2 separate regions of the Homo sapiens genome follow, and region 2 is linked to region 1. Evidence: promoter capture Hi-C in human tissues and cell types (Jung and others, 2019). All regions are on one chromosome and are shown on one strand. Each heading gives the region's core, a stretch centred on a gene start or on the middle of the fragment in contact. The rest is flanking DNA. Distances are from core to core; before and after follow the strand shown.

Region 1 (3,396 bases), core at 564-3,063:
GTAATCCCAGCTACTGGGAAAACTGAGGCAGGAGAATCACTTGAATCTGGGAGGCAGAAGCTGCAGTGAGCCAAGATCGCACCATTGCACTCCAGCCTGGGTGACAGAGCGAGACTCGTCTCCAAAAAAAAAATAAATAAATAAAATAAAACCAAAGCCAAGTGCAGTGGCTCACAACTGTAATCCAAACACTTTGGAAGGCTGGGGCCGGTGGATCAGTTGAGGTCGGGAGTTCAAGACCACCTGGGCCAACACGGTGAACGTCCCCCCCACTCCCCCGCCCCCACCCCACCCCTCCCACCTCCCCACCCCACCCCACCCCTCCCACCTCCCCACCCCCGTCTCTACTATAAATACTAAAATTAGCCAGGGGTGGTTGTGGGCACCTGTAATCTCAACTACTTGGGAGGCTGAGGCGGGAGAATCTCTTGAACCCGGGAGGTAGAGGTTGCAATAAGCCACTGCATCCCACCCTGGGCGACAGAGTGAGACTTCGTCTCAAAAAAAATAAAAAAAATAAATAAACTAAAACTAAAAGAAAACACACAAAATGAGGGTGAGATAATCAGATAGTAGCAATAGCACACCACCCATCGTTGCCATCCCAGGCCAAACTCCTCATACCCTACAGCTCTCTCCTCCTGCAAACACTGAAAAGAACCCTTTCAAATGGCAGGACCCTTCTCTTCTGGGGGGAGTCTCAAGAATGCCCACTCCCTCTTCCCTGCCCTGCAGTCCCAGCCTTCTCATCTCTTACCCCAGAGATATGAAATAACATACTTAAGACTGCCCCACTTAAATCTGACCTCCTGGCCTTGACCTACTCCAGACCGCTCCCTTCACCCCAAAGATATTCTAAGCCCAGCCCCTTCCCCACAACTTCAGACCTTCCTCTCTAGTTGCCTAAGTGAGGAAGCCTCCACTCTGAGACATCTCAAAGTCACCATTCCAAAATCCAAACGTTCATGGAAAAACAACAAAAACACCTTGCTCTTTCATGCCTTACTTTCAGTCATAGCTGCATATGATGGAGCAGAAAATCCTGTTGGTTTCAAATTTAAAACCTACCCAGAATATGATCACTTCTACCCACTCACCTGCCATTACTCTTGGTACATCCACCACCAAAGCATTCCTGGAATCCACTGCAGTAGCCTCCTTACCGGTCTCCTCGTATCCATCCTCGCAGTCCCCACCCCAAACTAATGTTCTCCCCTGAGCAAATTTCGAGACACTTAAAATCCCAGCTAAGATCACGTCCTTCTATTCAAAACCCTCAGTTAATCTCAACGCCCTCAGAATGAAGCGACAACTTCTCAGCCTGCCATTCCAGTCACAGTTCCTCAAACTCTGCTCTGTGTTGATGAGAACCCTGTCTCCCAAATGTTTGGGGGTCAGCAGCACCCCCGAGCCTTTACCTGCGCCGTCCCCTCCGCCCGTAACTCTCCCACACCCACCCACACCGAGATAGGACCCCGCCCCAAGAGTGCGTCGCTGTCCTGGGACACAGGGGCTGCAGGCACTTTACGATTCGGAGTCGGAGAAAGGGTGACTGAGGGCCCGGAGGACGCAGCACCCACCCGCGCGGAGTCCGTTAGCTCCGCCATAGGACCGTGGGCGCGGACAGCTGCCGGGAGCGGCAGGCGTCTCGATCGGGGACGCAGGCACTTCCGTCCCTGCAGAGCATCAGACGCGTCTCGGGACACTGGGGACAACATCTCCTCCGCGCTTTCCCAACACCTCCACCTGCGGCCCACACAAGCGTTACAGAACCCCGGCCAGGGACAGCCTGACAGAAACAAAATGTCCGCTACAAGGAGGAGCCGGAAGTCCCGCCCACGCACCCCCCGCAGGCACTGAAACACCCCTCTCCTGGGCCCTCATTGGGTATGCAACGTATAGGTTTGTGGGTAGAGTGTGGTTCCCACTGAGCTATCCTTCAAGGCAGGGGATTCTCGGCCTGGGCTCTTGGGAAAACTCGAAGTAGGAGGGCCAAGTTGTTTGGGAAAAGTAACCCGAGTTTCAAAGGGCTGACAGGACTTCCGTCCTCTTTTTTTTTTTTTTTTTTTTTTTTGAGACAGAGTCTCGCTCTGTCTCCCAGGCTGCAGTGCAGTGGCGCGATCTCGGCTGACTGCAACCTCCGCCTCCCGGGTTCAAGCGATTCTCCTGCCTCAGCCTCCCAAGTAATTGGGACTACAGGGGCCCGCCACCACGCCAGGCTAATTTTAGTACTTTTAGCAGAGTACGGGATTTCACCATGTTGGCCAGGCTGGTCTCGAACTCCTGACTTTGTGATTTGCCTGCTTCGGCCTCCCAAAGTGCTGGGATTACAGGAGTGAGCCATGGTGCCCGGCTGACTTCTGTCCTCTTAAAAGGCCTGGACCTAGATTCCCTGGAGTGTAGTATGCACCGATCGCAGAAATGTTGAGACATTTCAGATGTTCCCCAAAGCTGCAAAACTAAATAGATACACCACACCACAATGTCTCTTTGCGTACACTCACAGCTAGAAGCTAATAACTATTACCTTGTTGCTTTTTAAATATGTGTGCACTCAAGCTTTACAGTAACTTTTGTGAGCTTCAGTTTGGTCAGAGACGGAAGAGAAAATATTCCAAACAAGGCCTTGGAGTGGAAGAAGGAAGAGGGATGATGTGGAGTCTCCCTGAAACCAGTGGACAGATTTCTTCAGAAAACTCTTCCTGCCTGGGTAATCAGTGATGTCTCCATCACAGCAAAACACAGTGCAATTACCATTTAACCTGTCATTGTCATTGTAAGTATGGTGTCTGTGTTAGGAGGTGAGATTATCCCCGGGGGAAAAATCCTGACAGCTATTAATAATGATTCCGTAGTTATTTGAAGATAATGAAAGAAATTGCTCTAAGGAAATATCTGTGATAGATGGACAAAGTTAAGATCTCAGTAAAGTTTGAGCCTGAATACTAAAGTATAAGTGAAAGAATGAAGTTAAGCATATGGTTGTGTTGTGATCTTGACCACACTTTGTCAACAAAATGTGACTCTTTTTTCCTGAAAATGCTGAGCAATTGTAAAGAAGATATCAGAATGGTAAAAATCAACAGTGAAGTTGTGCTGTCTTGATAATTCACTGTTAAAATACACATCCAAGGAACACATACGAGCTCTCAGTAGGTGTTTTTCAAATGTGTTAGTAGCATGAAAGACATCACTAATAAAATTTCCAAGATTCCTATACATACAGGACATGTCCTGCATATAATGATTTTTGTCCTGCATCACCTTTTGACTTTGTCACAATACCCTAAATAAATATTCTAAAGAAGGCAACAGTCTTAAAGAAAAGAATTTTCAACCCGGAATTTCATATCCAGCCAAACTAAGCTTCATAAGTGAAGGAGAAATAAAATACTT
Region 2 (3,689 bases), core at 1,145-3,644, 850 kb after region 1:
GCCGAGCTGGATGATGCTCCAGTCCTGAACCCCACTCGTGGACACTCACTCACCCATCTCCGGGGTCCGCCCGGCTCCCGGCGCAGCCCATCTACTAGGGCAGCAGCCTCCTCGGGGCTGCCTGGCCGCTGCCCCTGCACACGGGCCTGGATCTCAGGGGGCAGTGCGCCCAGGAACTGCTCCAGCACCAACAGCTCCAGCATCTGCTCCTTGGAGCGTACCTCTGGACGCAGCCACTGGCGACACAGCTCTCGGAGCTGGGCCAGGGCCTCTTGGGGCCCTGTGGCCTCCTCATAGCGGAAGCACCGGAAACGCAGGCGTGCAGCTTCAGGGCCTGGGTCCCATAAGGCAGCCTCACCCTCCTCCTCAGAGTCCTCTAGCTTCACCATGACAGGCCCCTCATCTTCTGGGGGTGCTCGGTCTGGGGAGCCCAGCACCGCAGGCCTCATAGAGGGTACCAGGTCAGGTATCTGAGGCCAGTGTCTGCCCCTGGTGAAGAAATAGGATGAGGCTGTTGCAAAAGGAGTACAGTGAATGCTTCACTGCCTAGTCTATGCTGTACCGTTTGATCCTCAGACCTACCCCATGTGGAAGGCAGATGAGGAAACAGGCAAAGAAAGGCCATCTACAACCCACAGACTTATGCAGCTGGAAGCCCTCCCTTAGCCACCTGTATCCCTGGTCTTCTCTCCGCTTGGGCCTGTGCAAAGTCTCTGACAGTCTCCCTGCTCCAAACACAGGCTTTTTTTTCTTTTCTTTGAGACATGCTGTCAGTCAGTTGCCCAGGCTGAAGTGCAGTGGCGAGATCATGCGTCACTGCAGACTTGACCTCCCGGGCTCCAGAGATCGGCCTCCCAAGTAGCTGAGACAACAGGTGTGTGCCACGACATCCGGCTAATTTCTTAATTTTTCTGTAGGGATGGGATCTTACTATGTTGCCTAGGCTGTTCTTGAACTCCTGGGCTCAAGCAGATGATCCTCTTACCTTGACCTCCCGAAGTGCTGGGACTTACAGGTTTGTTCCACCATGCCAGCCCACAGGCTGTTTTTTAGGACTAGAAGACACTTCTCTCCCCTGTATCCTTCCCTTCTTCTACATGTGCAACCTCATTCCTGCGCTACAGCTCTCTCTTTACCAGGTGGATGGCACCTATACACCTACAGCCTGGGCATCAGCATCACTGCTGGCGTCTCCCCCTACCCAACGCCAGCCCTTACTTCACCTTCTATTCTCTCATCTACTTCGATGTGGCTCCTCATTTGGGCCCCACCATCATTCCCCTCCCTGCTTGGAAGCCTCACTCCACCTAATCCTCCATGTCAACCTGTGCAGTCACTTGTATGGCTCAGCTCCCAGGCAGCACCCTCTCTCCCTACTCAGCCCCATCTTCTAAGCCCAACATCACACTACGCAATGCCCCATCTCAGCTTCCTGATTTAGCTGGGGTTGGAAGGGGATGGGGGAGCTTCGCAATGGGTGGGGGGGCGGCAAAGGCTCCAAGACTGCCGGAACAGGAGCCTGCAAGGAAGTCCCGAGACTCTGATTCCGCCCATCTTCAGATCACTGTGCCTTCGAGAACTTGTTTCCCCATTTGCAAGTGGGGCTGACCTCCCTCCTCGCGCTGTTCCTTCTGCAGCTGCGGCTTTAGGAAGGAATCTGCGTTTATGAAGGGGATGGCACCGCAGAATCATTCCCCCGTGGGTGGCATCGATTTCGAGGGCCGCCTCATCCTGGGGGCCAAGCCTCCACTCTTCAAGGTGCCAAGTCAACCTGAAACCCTGGGAGAGACTTGGGTCATAGCCAAGATGGCAGGTACCTACGGAGGGTCCCGAAATACACTTCCCAGAAGTCCAGGCGGCAACTTCCGCTCCAGGGTGCCAAGGTAGGTCCAGACGACGCCTAGGCAACCGGGGGCGGGGCTCCCAAAGCCTGTCGTCGTGGCAACGAGTAGTGATTGACAAGCCTCTCGCTCTAGCCCTGGGCGCTCCCGCAAGGACTGCCCGGATTCGTTCCCCGCGCTTCCGGTCTCACTGGGGAGCCGGAATCCCCGAGTCTGCAGCCACCGCCCCCGTCCACACGATAGCCCTCCCGGTTAAGAGGACCCCGCCCTCACCTCTGCGCTCAGCGGGCCGCTCCGCGCTCCTGAGCACGCGCAGTCTTCGACTTCCCCCTCCCGCTGGACTACGTCTCCCAGGATGCTCCGCGCACCAGCTCGAGCGCCTCCTTGCCCTTCCCCCACCCTCGTCCCCGTTTCTACACCCTCTCCTCCCTTCCCCTAGCGGTGGTCGCAATGATCAGGTCATACTCCTGGCCGCTTCTTCCCATGCTCCCCGCCTCGAATCCGTGCGTCGGCATGCGCAAGCCTCTCAGGTACAACAGACGGCAGCACCGCCTACCAGATCGCGCATGCCCCCCACCACGTTTTCCTCACTTCTCTACGGGCCTTCCTGAGATTAGCAGGATCCTGCACCAATCACGGCCGTCATTAGAACTCCGTCGGTGCCCCACCGCGTCTCCATGGCAACTCCCTACAGGAAGGGGCCTCTGCTACTTCCTAGACCGCAAAATGGAGAAAGGCTTGGCCCGATGCTTTCCGGCAGATGTAGTCAGCAGGCCCTTCGTGTGTACGTGCGCGCGCGGCGCGATGACGTTCCTCTGTGATCATGGGCGAGGGGCGGGCCCTGAACGTCTCCATGGTAACCTGGGGACACGACTCGACATCGCCTGGGTAACCCGGAGACGCGGCGGGCGTTGAAAATGCAATGGGGCATGTGGGATGAAGAGGTGGGGAAGGGTACTGGGGCAGAGAGATGCCGATCGATAGAAACAGCGAGGAGAGACGGAGAGAGACCAGAGACTCAAGGGCAAAGAGAGACGAAGGACCGGCGGGAGGAAGAGAGAGAGAGACAGAGAGACAGACTCACAGACTGGGAGGACCGGAGACTCGACGCGAGGAGAGACAGTGAAAATAAGTGAACAAACATAGAGACACGGGTCCAAGTTATAAGAGGGCTGAGTGGATCAGAGGGTCAGGGCCGGGCAAACAGGTGTCAGAACAGTTAGCAAGAGAGAGGCAGATCAGAAAGGGATGCAGATGAAAGAGACACAAAGAAGGAAACGCAGAATGGGTTCACAGAGACAAGAAATGCAGATATCCAGACTCAAGAGGTAGACAAGAAGGGAGAGGGACAGAAACAAGAAGGGAGAAAAGGGACAGAAATTAGAGATACAGTAAGATGGATTGACAGTTTTCGAAGACCTAGAGAAAGATGACAGCACGAAGAGAGACAGGGAGAATCCGAGGTAAAACTGTTAGGAAAACTTAGGAGTCCAGATGCTGTCCAGTTATATGCTACCCTGTACAGGTTGATAGGTTGCAAATGCTTTCTGTCCAGTGTATCGCTTTGTAGCTCACTAAGCAGTTTTGTATCCAACTTTGTGCTTTTATTTCAGTGTTTTTCTTTTTCTTTCTTTCTTTTTTTTTTTTTTTTTTTTGACGGAGTCTCGCTGTTGCCAGACTGGAGTGCAGTGGCACGATCTCGGCTCACTGCAACCTCCGTCTCCCAGGTTCAAGCGATTCTCCTGCCTCAGCCTCCCGAGTAGCTGGGACTGCAGGCTGCTCCACCACACCCGGCTGATTTTTGTATTTTTAGTAGAGATGGGGTTTTACCATGTTGGCCAGACTGGT

What was found. The method cuts DNA at HindIII sites, captures the fragments that hold promoters and counts their contacts. A contact is called where the count stands out against the background at its distance.
Region 2: the fragment with the promoter of MZF1 here is called in contact with the fragment with the promoter of ZNF671 in region 1 in 1 of the 25 tissues and cell types used here (lymphoblastoid cells).

What each region holds. Positions count from the first base shown.
Region 1 is chr19:57,725,811-57,729,206 of GRCh38, forward strand. It overlaps ZNF671 (zinc finger protein 671), which reads right to left and starts at 1,814. Exons shown (of 4, transcript NM_024833.3): 1 at 1,581-1,814. The coding sequence starts at 1,718. RefSeq lists enhancers at 1,513-2,013, 1,531-1,970, 2,111-2,160 and a silencer at 1,967-2,192. The HindIII fragment of the contact is 7,784 bases long and covers 1-2,962 here.
Region 2 is chr19:58,570,941-58,574,629 of GRCh38, forward strand. It overlaps MZF1 (myeloid zinc finger 1), which reads right to left and starts at 2,395. Exons shown (of 6, transcript NM_198055.2): 1 at 2,115-2,395; 2 at 54-489. The coding sequence starts at 449. It overlaps MZF1-AS1 (MZF1 antisense RNA 1), which reads left to right. Exons shown (of 6, transcript NR_027334.2): 4 at 918-1,015; 5 at 1,638-1,883; 6 at 1,977-3,689. RefSeq lists enhancers at 1,100-1,961, 1,962-2,821, 2,190-2,279, 2,340-2,769. The HindIII fragment of the contact is 16,370 bases long and covers 1-3,689 here.